Regions from separate parts of the Homo sapiens genome. Here region 2 is linked to region 1. Evidence: promoter capture Hi-C in 16 types of primary human blood cells and fetal thymus (Javierre and others, 2016). All regions are on one chromosome and are shown on one strand. Each heading gives the region's core, a stretch centred on a gene start or on the middle of the fragment in contact. The rest is flanking DNA. Distances are from core to core; before and after follow the strand shown.

Region 1 (6,635 bases), core at 176-2,675:
CCTCACTCCTGGAGAGCCAACCACCAAGTCCTGTTGGTGCCACCTTCTAAACATCTCTGGAATCTTTTTTTCTCATCATTACATTCTCTACACTAGTTCAAGCTACCATTATCTGTCACACAGATTATGGACTATTGCAATGGCCCCTTGATAGGTCTTTCCCCTCTCACGCTTATCCCTTCTAATCAATTATTCACAAAGCAATCATTTAAAAACACAACCTTCCCAAGCTCTCAACATAAAACCCATGATGTTTAAGCGGTTATTGGCCCAGCAGATCTGATCCCCACCTTGCTCTCCCTTTTACTTTCCAGCCACACTAGACCTCATACAGCTCCCTCGGGTTTTCAATAGCTTCAGACCTTCACGTGTTATTACCTCCGCCCTGTACACCTGCATCCTCCGTTTTCACCTGGTTAATGTCCGCTCCTCCTTCAGAGCTAGTGTAACTTCCGGTGGAGCCTTCTCCTATGATTTCTAGTCCCAATTATTAATACTTGCTTGATCATTTGATTAATGCTTTAAGCTACGTATGAGATTGGAGAGGGTTCAGAGTGTACATTTTATCCCAATCCCCCCACCCTCCCCCGCAAAGCCTGTCCTATGGAAGTCCTTCGGGTAAAAAAAACAACGAAGAAAACAAAACAAAAGACAAATGAAAATTCGACTGGGGTAGTGGGAAAGATTATCTGTAGCTACACGACCATTGAAAACACATTTTAAAGATGCAATTTGGGACCAGGGACGGGGGATAGTGGCGTGTTGGAAAGGTCTTTGTGGCGACGAACTTTCAACCGAGGGCCAGGATCTGAGGGTTCAGAAATACACTGCCAGGACTATTATCACCTTTAAGTCATTTACTAGTTTTTAACTTCTGCTTGTCTGCGACAGCGTAACACAGGAAGCAGCTGCAGTCTTCTCAAACCGCAGCCGCTGACCTTAGCGGCAAGAGGCCCGACCTGCCCTCCAGGCGCCCGGCGCTCGGCTCCCAGAGGCGCCGCGCAGCTCCCTCAGCGGCAGTCACAGCTGGCCAGCGCGCACCCGGCACGCGCGCCCCCAGGGCCTCTGCGCGCGGACCCGGCTCTCAGGCGCCGCGGGAGAGGCCCCCTACTCACGGAGCGCGCGGCCCGTGCGCCCACGCTCCGACCGCATTCCTCAGTACGTGGCACCCTTGGAAAGTGCCTGTCTGGTCAATCGAAGAGTCCTCGTTTCGACCAAAAAAATTCCCCTCAGAAATATGCATGGCACGGCAATGAAGGCATTTCACTATGAAGTGGAATGATGATGGTCCGACCAGGTCAGGACGAACATATGAGGGGTTAGATCTAAGCAGGCACTATTAAAGACAGTCGCATCCGGGCCCTCCTGCCGCAAGCTGCCCTCCCAGCCAAGGGTCCTTCAGGTAGGAGGTCCTGGGTGACTTTGGAAGTCCGTAGTGTCTCATTGCAGATAATTTTTAGCTTAGGGCCTGGTGGCTAGGTCGGTTCTCTCCTTTCCAGTCGGAGACCTCTGCCGCAAACATGCTCCGCCAGATCATCGGTCAGGCCAAGAAGCATCCGAGCGTAAGTTCGTGACCGCTCTCCTAATGTTTTCCCTTGTCCTTCTTGCGTCGGGGTGCGCCTCTTTCTGTTCCCTGGGAACGTCCTCATTTACAGCCACTTACCGTCCGTCAGACCAGACCCTGCCTCGCCTAGTGTTTGTCATCTTAGTTGTCCCAGGCCTCTGTGACCCTCTACGCCATGCATTGTGGGGTTTTGTCTGACAGGAGGAAGGAGACGGACACTGCTCGGAAAAAAAACCTAGTTTTTTCTAGTTAGTGAATATTGGAACAGTCTGGTGGCCGCTCTCTTTTGCAGGTTGTGCGGTCCAGGAGGGATAGATGTGCGCTGTGTGGGTCAGAGACTAGCATAGGTCAGGTTCCCTATGTGTTATACCATCTCTGGAGGTTCTTGTATTCGCCGCATTGCACCACCAGGCCTTTTGGTAAATAAGAGGGGTCCGTGATCTTGGAATCCTCACTTTGTCTGGACGTCGTTGCTTTTGGGAAAATTTCGAAGTGTGGAAATTGCAGTTAAGTTCTTTGGCATCTCATTTTTCCTCAGCACATCAATGTGCTGTAGAGCTAAAAGTCTATGCAATCTTTAATCTGTCTTAAATCCGGTTCCCTAAATACGCAGCAAGCATTGGTAGCATTACGTTTTCAGAGATAATGCTTAAAGCCAGTATTTGTAATAGATACGTTTACTTATTCAGATTCTATTTTTCATACATCTTTATAGAGGCACCCTTAAATAATTTGCAAAGAATTTGTTTTTCAAGCCCCAGGATAAAGGAAGCCAGAAAATTTAATGGGAATGACATGTAAATATTAGAGAGGTGAAGAAGACTCGATACATTTTCTTGGAAATTTAAAAATGTACCTATAATTTGCTCCACATTAAAAAGTAAGACACTTAAACCAGAGTCATCTTAACATCCTTTCCAAATTCCATTTCTTTCTTTAGAACACAGTTATAAGAAATCTTACCTCAATGTAAGATCTACTTTATTTAAATTTTAAGACAAAACAGTCCAATAACAGTTTGAGACTTGGAAATCAATGTGCAGAAACTACTGTAATCTCTCGTTGGCCAGTGTTTTAAGTATTTGAAGATGGTTATTCTATTTTGTGTTTGGTTTAGTTGATCCCCCTCTTTGTATTTATTGGAACTGGAGCTACTGGAGCAACACTGTATCTCTTGCGTCTGGCATTGTTCAATCCAGATGTTTGGTAAGTACTTAAAAATGTTTAAAACTTTGATAGCTGATCAAGGCAGTTTAGGAGCCACAGTCTCTGTAGGGCGATAACATTAGGGTAGTAGAAAGAATGTTACATTTACAGTCATACAATAAGTTCAGATCTCAAATCTGCTGTTTTCATTTACTTTTTTTGGTTCATGAAATTATCTAATTTCTCTGAGTCTCGTTTTCTCTTTGGTAAAGTAGAACTGCTAATACCAAATCTTGTAATGTTTTGAGGATTGACATAAAAATAATTGTTTTTATAAAATAATCATGGTTCTCGGCACATGTAAATGTTTTTTGCCTTCACTTGCACATTTGCAGTTGAAAAACAATAGACAATCAAAAGATTGATTCATCATTATTCTATGCACTTTTCTGTATATCACTTTATTAATTAAATGGAAAGGTTTTGTGAAAGCCAGATAAAAAGTATCTTGTGATAGGGATTCTGTGTTCTACCTTTTTTCTAATTGATTACATGAGATTGCTTATTATAGATCCTCTACCTGTTTCAACTTCATAATGAAATAACACCATACCTCATCTAATAGAAAATAAGATTGATCTGTTCAAAAATGTATTCTTAGTACAAAACACTAAATAGTGCTTTATTATTATAACAGTCGTAATGTTTTATTTCTTTTAGTTGGGACAGAAATAACCCAGAGCCCTGGAACAAACTGGGTCCCAATGATCAATACAAGGTAAACTACAAAATTGTTTTAAAGTTGTTAGAAATTGTGTTGTAATAAGTTTTGTCATGGGGTGGGTTTTCTTGAAACTGGATATACGAGTAAAATTCCATTATATTGAACTTTAAAGAGCTGTTAGGTAGTTCTGTGAAATGAAAATGGTATATTGCTCTAATAAATATTTTTTGCTAGGTATTTAATTGCTAGTATAAGAAAAGAAGGAAAAATAGTATAGCTATCATTTACCATTTTCTTAGTTCTTAGGTAGTCTAACACAGTGTTCTCAAACTTCATTATACATAGAGCTTGTTGAAACACAGATTCTTCAGCCTTATCCCCAGAGATTCTGATTCAGCTGGTCTTTTGTGGGGCATGAGAATTTAGAGTAGTCTGTGGAACTACTCTTCTAGAGAATGATTTCATGGACTGAGACCATTTATTGATTCCCCAAACATAACCTTCCTTATGTGTAAAAAATTTTGCATACAAAGACCCTGCACAGCATCAAAACCAAGGGCAGGCCAGGCACGGTGGCTTATGCCTGTAATCCCAGCACTTTGGGAGGCTGAGGCGGGCAGATCACTTGAGATCAGGAGCTGGAAATCAGCCTGGCCAATATGGTGAAACCCCATCTCTACTAAAAATACAAAAATTAGCTGGGCATGGTAGTAGGTACCTGTAATCACAGCTGCTCGGGAGGCTGAGGCAGGAGAATCGCTTGAACCTGGGAGGTGGAGGTTGCAGTGAGCCAGGATCACGCCACTGCACTCCAACCTGGGCAACAGAACCAGACTCTGTCTAAAAAAAAAAACCCAAAAAACCAAGGGCGGCTTCATTAAGATACCATACCATTCACATACCATACAGTTGACGTGTTTAAAGTTTATAACTCACTCAATGCACTTTCCATAATATCAAGCCATTTCATCAAAAGAGAGTAACTGGCTGTTTGATTTATCACTCTGAAGAACAGGGTCCCCGATCAGTGTGTGTCCAGCACTGCTTGACAGGTGTACATCTATGATGGATTATTACTCATAGCAACGTTTTTTTGTTGTTGTTGTTGGAGACAGAGTCTCACTCTGTCGCCCAGGCTGGAGTGCAGTGCCATTATCTTGGCTCACTACAGCCTCCACTTCCCAGGCTCAAGTGATTCTCTTGCCTCACTCTCCTGAGTAGCTGGAACTATGGCACGCACAACCACACCCAGCTGATTTTTTGTGTTTTTAGTAGAGATGGGGTTTTGCCGTGTTGGCCAGGCTGGTCTTGAACCCCTGGCTTCAAGTTGATCCGTCTGTCTCAACCCCCCAGTGCTGGTATTACAGACGTGAGCCACTGTGCCCGCAGCCTGATAGCAACTTTTAACATCACCCTTTGTGGATTTCACGTTTTCCCCTTAACCTGATTATAATTTGGCTTCTAAATCCTTCAGTAAATCTCCTTACAAGAAGAAAATAAAAATGCAATGGCTAAGCTGAAACATCGATCTCATCTGTGTTATATTTTGCCTCTAAAAAGATAAACGGGCATCCTGATTTGTTTTTATGTCTTATGACATTGTTTATGAATTTGTTTAAACTAAGTCCATTCCAGAGAAAATAATTCCACATACAAGAAACTTTTAAAAAGTAAACAAACAAACAAAAAAACTAGCAGGCTTTGATTCTTCCACCAAAGAGCGTATTGGAATCTATGGGTATGTGTAGTTCAAAAAGTGTAACAGATGATTCCGATAATGCAGCCAGTCTACTAATGTTCTGAAATATCACAACACATGCCAATATGAGGCCTTGGGAACCGAAAATGAAATGTTGCTGTAACAACATAGCTGTTAATAGCTATGACACTGATAGCAGAGTCTGGAAAGATGAAGAGTGTCATGTTATGAAATGACAGAAATGAAAAGGAACCAAATCCAGAAACTTGAGAAGCTGGAGTAAATGAAACCTACTTAATACTTTTTCTAAACCCATTCAGGTAGACTAGATTATTATCTCCATCATTCACAATCTCTCACCTAAGAGAATATGTTTTTCTGGCCCACTGACATCAGATTTGATTTGTGACTTGCTGTGGGAAATTATGAGTTGGAGGAAATGATACCTGCCACTCTTGGACCATTATGTGGTCCCTCCGTTCTTTTGCTTCTCTCATGAGACCAAAATTGACAAGTAAGGGCTACTTATTCACCTTAGAATTGGAATGAAACAAATATGGAGCAATCAGCATACAGATGGCATATAATGTGAGTGAAAAGTGAACTTTTGTCGTTGTAAGCCGCTAAGATTTGAATGTGTTAATTTGGGCTGCCGTAACAAGATACTGTAGACCAGGTGGCTTAAACAACAAATTTATTCCTCAGTCCGGAGGCTGGGAAGTCCAGATCAAGGTGCCAACCAATTCTGTTCCTCATGAGGGCCCAATCCAGTTGTGTCCTCACAATATGGAAGGAGAGGAGTGAGCCCTCCTGTAAAGGCACTAGTTAGAGTGTTCCACCCTCATGACCTAATTACCTCTCAAAGGCCCAGCCTCCAAATACCATCACCATTGGCGTTTGAGGTTACAACATGAATTTTGGGAGGACATAAACATTCAGTCCGTAGCAGAGGATTATTTGTTGCCATGCTATAATCTAGCAAAAGCTATGAATAAAACAGCAAGAGACAGGACCAAAATAAGATTTGAGCATTAAAGGCCCAGCAATACTTCTCAACTGAATAACAGTTGAAGCTCCCCAAAGCTAAGATCAGAATATGTTGTGCCTTCCCAACTATTGTTTCAGAGACTCTAAAAGTAGCCAGCATTAAACTGAGAAAAAGAATAGAGGTAGGGAAGTTGAAAGCAGGTTTTAAAATTCTAGAGAGAATTTTGGATATGAAGCAAGTAAATCAGGAGCCTGCTTAGTTTTAAGAAAATTGGCAACAATGCCATGAATGTGCTTTTGACTCTGCGTGGGTGTAGGGCCTTGATCCTGCAAATCGTAGAACTTGATCTCAATTACCTCTTTTATAAATTAAGAATCAGAAGGGTTATTGTGATGATTAACTAAGATATACATAAAGCATCTAGCCCGGTGCCTGGGCAGGAGCCCAACAAGTGTTTATTTTCCTGTCCTTAATATATACCTGCAGACCCTTCTGTAAATTATTTCTGATATTT
Region 2 (6,941 bases), core at 43-2,542, 3.0 Mb after region 1:
GCACTGAACAAAGTAAAATACTCTTACAGCCTAACATTTGTAGTTATGCAGTGAAAAGAGATTATCAAGTTCTATGTTCCAAGACAATAACACTGAATAGCAGGGGTCAACAAGGAATTTTATGTCATTACACCATCAGTTAGATATATTAATGAAGGGCGCCCCTGGCTTTTCCGAAGCAGATAGCTTCTTGGGAGGAATAAATACCAGATGTAATGTAATAATCCATTGTGGTAAATTTGTTTTTTATTCTGTAATGAAACTGAAAGCGTACAAAGATTTTGGATGACTATCAAAAACATAAATTTACCCCACAGTAAACCAAGGTTTTAAACCTTAATCGGGAGCAATTAATGTAAGGATCTTCATCAGATAACTTTCATTAATTTTCAAGAGGTTAAAAGAGAAGCACAATGTCAAATTGGTCTGCTCGTGGTGTCTGCCCACACTGACAAGCTTCCTCTGATTTCAGGCACTATATGCAGGGGTCACTTTCACGTACAGGAGCCATCCTTCTTTTCTTCCTTGTGTGTTCAGACGAGAAAGCATACTAGGTTCAGTAAAAAAATTGATGAAACTCAATAAAAATACAAAAATTTCATGCAGTACTTCATCCAAGTAAAACTAGTGATAGTTCCTCAGTTTACCACATATTATAATAAGAGCTAACATTTATTCACCATGTGCCAGCCGCTATTCTAAGAACATTATGTGTGTTAATTCATTCAGTCCTCATATAATCCACAAGGTAGATACTATTATTATCCTTACTGTGGTCTCAGTTGTGGCATAAATAAGCTGTCTTGCCTGAGATCACATAGTTAGTATATGGGGAGCTAAAAATTTCACCCAGACAGACTGGCTCAAGAGTCTGAGGAAGCACTCTGCTATAGTACCTGGCAGCTCAAAGCTGTGGGGTACATAATCTGTAGAGTATTCACAATGGCCCACAAATCTCATCTGTGAGATAAGTTCCCATCAGTTCAAAGGAAATTTTACAAATGAAGACAGACCACTACTTTTTTTTTGTTTTCCAGAATAACATATATTTTAATTATGAATAAAAACTTTACTCTTTCAAATTTTATATAAATGGCCTATCTCATTAATTTAAAAACTGCATTATTTTGTGTGTAAAAAGAATGATAAATGATTTCTTTTCAGTGACTTTTCTCAGAATAGCAAGAACAAAAAATCTGACAGATTAAAAATATGTAAAGCTGGCTAGGTGCGGTGGCTCACGCCTGTAATCCCAGCTCCTTGGGAGGCCAAGGCAGACGGATCACTTGAGCTCAGGATTTTGAAACCAGTCTGGGCAACATGGCAAAACCCCATCTCTACTAAAAATGTAAAAATACTAGCTGGACGCGGTTAGGGAGGCTGAGGTGGGAGGATCACCTGAGCCCAAAAGGCCGGGAGATCAAGGCTGCAGTGAGCCTTGATCACACCACTGCACTCCAGCTTGGGTGACAGAATGACACCCTGTCTCAAAAAAAAAAAAAAAAAAAAAAAAAAGAAGAAGAAGAAGAAAAAAAGTTAAGATTTTTCTTTTACATGCTGGTAAATTTCTGAGTTGTTGCTTTGATTACAGCATAGTTGCATTATAGAAATGTCATCTCTAGCTACTCCTAAATATATTTATGGAACAACTTCAACACATTAGGTTACAATAATTCTAAATTTATTCTAGGTCACAATCACAATGATCAATACCTAATTTGGATCTAAAGCAACATACCTAGTCATATTTTAAGGACTTTCTGTGTTTGTTCAAATCTACCACAGCTGACTTAGACATCTAAAGCAAATCTAAATAACTCACACAGAGAAACAGAGAATTAGTATGATCTTAAAATACTATTTTCAGTTACTAGTAAGTCATTATGACCAATCTAGAAGCTCAGTCGTTTCTCTTTGCTATAGAAACCTTGGTTGTCTCTTAAACCTTTATTCTCACGACGTAAGTACTGATCTTCATATTTAAGGAATACAGGCTTCAAACAAATCAAAGGTGGCCTAAAATAAATTAAACTCAGTGCCTGCTTTCAAATGTCCATTTGTTGAGTTCTTGATAATATTTTATTCTTATTGAGGACAAAGTAAGCTCCAAGGATATATAGAAGCTTTAAGAAAATGTTCTTAGTAAATTGGAAACCCCCTAGAATGAGATGTGGATTGCTAGGCTAGAAGAGCGTTGTTATGCTACTATGCTAGCTATGGGGTAGTTAGGCCTAGTGCCGATTTTCCATACTGGTTGAATGTAAGTGTAACAATCTCTGAAAATCTTATATAAGACTTAATGTTAACAATGACCTCTTACTATGTTGTCCTGTGTAAAGAAGACAAAATTGAAGGCACAATTTGGTGGCATGAGAAATACTTCTGTATCAGTAGCCCCATGCCATGGCTATCTGTGGGACGAGGATCTGCCATTAGCTAATCTGAGGTAGAATTCTGTTCTACTTTCTTCTTAGTGCAAATATGGTAATAGACTACATTTTAGGTTAAATTAAAACTTGGAATCATTGGTTACATGCGATTTATATGCAGCCCTATGTGGAGAGATCATAAGATGAAGAAGCCACAGAGCCCACAGAGCTACCAAAACCTTCCTCTTCTAGCTCCATCTGGGTTTGCCTGGCTGAGCATCCAAGGCCCATCCAAATCTGAGAGGCAGTCCAGGCTGTCAGTATTTGCAATGAGGTCATGGCTGGGAGAGAACACTAAACAGATCTGCACTGATGTTCATCTTAAGCTGATTAAACTCTCTTGTAGATTGATTCCTAATAGCAACAACAACAAAAAAGCCTTGACTGAATTTTTGTCCCTGGCAGATGCTTAAATTAAACTCCTTACTGCTTGTGACAGCCTACGTGCACCTTTGCACTAGGTGTTCCCTCTGCCTGAAAGGTTCTTGCCCAGATATCCACATGGCTTGCTCACTCATTTCCATCAGGTCTTTACTCAAATGTCACCACCTTTATGATGAGAGCTTTCCTGAACACTTTTTTAAAAATTGTAAGCACCCCTCGGCTTTTCCTGCTCTTTATCCTACTCTTTTTGCAGAGTACTTATCAGCAACCAAACCATAATATATTATAATTATTTTTTGTTTTGTCTGTCTAGAATAGAACAGCCATGAAGTGAAGACTTTTTATCAGTTTTATAACTGCTGAATCTCTACAACAGTGCTTAGTATATGGTAGATGATCAATAAATATTTGTTTAATGTTGTTAAGAGTGGCAAATTTTAGCCAGTGTTTATCTTATGAACTAAAACTTGTGCTTTTCCTCAGGAAAAAAAATCTAACAGGTGTATCTCTGCTACAAAAGCCTAGTCGCAGAGTAGAAAAATATCTGATGTGGCTACTGTAAACCACACAGATATTTGTATTGAAGCTGCCATTCAAAAAGATAGAATACCTTGCATTATGGTTGTTAGACCTACTGGCTCCTGGAGGCTCATCAGAGGATGAAAATGGAAAATGGGGGCCAGGCATATTCCCAACTACTGGCAAGGCTGAGGCAGAGGACCGCTTGAGCCCAGTAGTTTGAGGTTACAGTGAGCTATGATTGTGCCACTGCACTACAGCCTGGGTGACAGAGTGGGAACCTATCTCCAAAAGAAGGAAAATAGAATTGGCAATGGAGAAAAGGCATTGAAAAAAAAAGGACAACTGAAATAAACAGAGAAAACTGAAGAGGATCACTTAAGGAGTGACATCTGCTGATTGGTATTTAGTTCTATCTCACTATTAAGAAGAGCTATTCTCAAGAGACCTGTGTAAAGGAACTGAAAATAAATGATAATTAAGTAGACGAGACTATTATATGTAAATAATGAAAACTTTGTTTCTAAAAGAAGTTCAGAAGAAGCAATAGTAATAGATATTTTATTTTTAACTGGTAAGGTCATCCAGAATAAGTGTACAGTTATTTCTCAAAAATAGAAAACAGTAATGAAAACCACTGGTTTTTCAGATTTTCATCGCCATAGCAGCTCCAATTGCCAACTATGATGCCAGTGGCACCTCCAATGCATCTTAAGCTGATGCATAATACTCTCACCATGTAACTAAAAGACTATATTGTATAAAGTCAGCACATTCACAGGTAAAACTTGGGGGCCAAAGGACTATAAATATTCTCTTTCTATGGTGTGACATTCTATTTGTTTTAGTCCCAAATAGAGTGTTCATAATACCTGAAAGCAATAGTAGTCCTATGAAGGGAATATGTTTGATTATCATAATGTTATTTTTTTTTATTGAGAGTTGAAAGTCATTAAAGTATGTCATAGGTTTCTTCCTATGTGGCCAAATCTTATTTTTTGCCACACGAGTAAGTGTGTTGAGGGACTGTTGTTAGGGTGCCGTCAATTCATCAGCAGTGCTGGACTAGAGAAGTTTCTTTTTATTATTTTAAACTTTTTGAAACACAATTTTCAGAGTGCCCTACTCAGCATCTTATTGAAAAGGTCCATATTAATGCCCCTAATAAGGCTAAATGCGGGCTTAGTAGCAACAATACTAGCATCAAGCCATAGCAACTCCTTGTCAGGTTACTTATTGAATGTTTTTGAAGTGTCAGACACTGTTTTACACTCAGTAGGGTTTACCTGTTCTCACACTTTGGTAAAGAGGAGTAAAAAGATATGCCGACAAAGCTAAAGCCATATCTACAGATTTGCCTTATATAAAAAGGATGTAAATAGAGTATTATTGAAGTGAGGGAAAGGAAAGCTCACTTGAGAAAAGGCTTCAGGAAGAAGAGTATGAAGAAGTCATGTAGGTAGGAATGCACAAAACCAGGCAGAAGATGATTGAACAGTTTGCCTTTGGCTGATGGTTAATGGAAGATAAGTCTTAGCCTGTTGATGACGGGTCATGACGGCCCTTGGTTGCCAGGTAAGGTTTGCACTTTATTGGATATGCAGTGAGGAGCTGTTGAAGATTCTTGAATGGGTGGAGAGAACATGAGTGGAGCTGTGCTTTATGAAGATTAATGCAAGAATAGCTTAAAGCATTGAATTAGAGATTGATGGTTGGAAGACGATGTAGAAGGTTTAGAGGATACTCCACATTAGTTTAGGTGGCATGAGTCAGGGGAATGACAAAGGACATGGAGAGTGAAATAAGGTGAAAGTCATGCTCCTTCTCAGCTGATGATCATGTGGACTTTGAAAAGAGAACGCCAGACAGTTCTGAAGATTCAAGCTTGGATGCCTGAGAAGATAGTCATGGCTTTAACACAAACAAGGCAGCTAAGGGAAGGAGGAGGTTTGGTGAAAAGATAATGAGTTCAGCTATAAATAAAATAACCAGAGAATATCCAAATAGAGACAGCTTTTAAACGACAGTGAAGTTGAGAAGACAAGAGATATAGATTTGGGGGCTATCCATGTCCATATGGTAGCTGAAGCCATGGTCACAAAGGAGAAAAGCATAGAAATGAAAAGAAGGTGAAAAACAAAATTGTGAAAATTTATACGTGAGTCATGGAGGGATAAGTAAAAAACAAAACAAAACAACAACAACAAAAAAAAAATGAAAGAAAACAATACTAGAAAAGAAGGCAGGGCAGAAGTACTCCTTAAAATAGAGTTCAGGGTCTCAGAAAATAAGTTTGGTAGCTGCTTCGTGGGTCATCTGACAAACTAATATCCCTCTTCTCTGAGAACCAATCCTCCCCCAACACATAGAGGGTTTGGGCCTGACAGCTATGTATGTCCCAAATAACCTTGCCCCTCTGGCCATGGTTGATTTCACCCGAGTTCAACAACTGACTAAAGCTGGGCCAATTAAATTTTCTCCTTTGGGAATCTGAAATTAAGAAATAAAATATTTTTCTATAAAGAATTGTGCATAGAGTGGCCATTTTCTGTCATGGGCACAGAGAAGCAGAGGAAACCTGCCTTCTGAGAGAAAAGAATGAAGTGACTTACAGAAAGAAGGAGAAATCACACCAGGTGACCAGAAAGAGGGAGAGAGTCTGAGAGGAAGTTCACTTTCCCATGATGATTATTTTGTTTCTTATGCATTTTATTCAATCCTCCAAAACCACCCCAACTCCAGACCCATTCCTGCTGATACATCTCCACTACAGTCCCACCATCAAATCTATGATTTTTTCAACATTTGGATCAATTTCTTTTTCCTTTCTGTACAGGTAATACATGTTCTCCTTTCCTATCGAAAGCCATCTCCTCCACTTCTGATTTAAATTCTGACCCTCTTGTCTCTCAGGGACTTCATTTCTGCAGTTATTATCTCCATCTTCTTCATCATCAAATTATTGATTTTTCCCAGTAATGTTTGAACATGCTGTTATGCCAACATTTACTTTAAAAGGCAAAACAAAGATTCTTCTGCCATCCCTTTCCATCTATGGTCCAAATTCTTTGATCTTGTCACAGCAACAGTTCTTGACAGAGATGTCTACATGTTACTTCTGATATCCTATTTAATCCTATTAATCTACTATTTTCCTGTTTAGTCTATTCCAATCTGGCTTCATGCCACTGAAAACTGCTAATCAATATCAACTGCCTCCATATTGCCAGACCCAGTGGATATTTCTGGGACCTCTTCCTTTTCCAGCTTTTAGCAGTTTTCCACATTGCTGGTCAGGCTCAGTTCTTTAAAAAAATCTCTTCTATAGGAGTCTGGGACACTGTACTCACCTGTTCTGTTTCCTACTTCTCTAACCACTACTGCTCAGTGCTCTTCAGGTTCTTCCTCCTCTAGTTCCCTCTAAAAATTGGCCTCTATTCTCTGCTTGCTTCTGTATAAACTCACCTTCTTGGTAATCTTAGACATTCCCATGGCTTTAAATACTGCAAAATGCTGGCAACTCCTAAATGAAACTCTCCAGCCCAGACATTTCCTCCAAGATTCATATTTGTATATTCAGTTGCCTGCTTGATACGTCAAGTACCCATG

The links. The method cuts DNA at HindIII sites, captures the fragments that hold promoters and counts their contacts. A CHiCAGO score of 5 or more calls a contact.
Region 2: a fragment that was not itself captured here is called in contact with the fragment with the promoter of COXFA4 in region 1 in 1 of 17 cell types (naive CD8 T cells); the score reaches 5.5 in naive CD8 T cells.

The regions. Positions count from the first base shown.
Region 1 is chr7:10,934,943-10,941,577 of GRCh38, reverse strand. COXFA4 (cytochrome c oxidase associated subunit FA4) reads left to right here and starts at 1,425. Exons shown (of 4, transcript NM_002489.4): 1 at 1,425-1,562; 2 at 2,682-2,770; 3 at 3,431-3,488. The coding sequence starts at 1,521. It overlaps LOC107986767 (a long non-coding RNA gene), which reads right to left and starts at 1,322. Exons shown (of 3, transcript XR_001745091.3): 1 at 847-1,322. RefSeq lists a silencer at 893-1,142 and enhancers at 368-1,288, 1,173-1,442. The HindIII fragment of the contact is 7,174 bases long and covers 1-6,635 here.
Region 2 is chr7:7,961,308-7,968,248 of GRCh38, reverse strand. The region is part of intron 1 of GLCCI1-DT (GLCCI1 divergent transcript); the gene reads left to right. Among named protein-coding and RNA genes, the nearest start is that of GLCCI1-DT, 4.0 kb to the left of the region's middle. The HindIII fragment of the contact is 1,667 bases long and covers 459-2,125 here.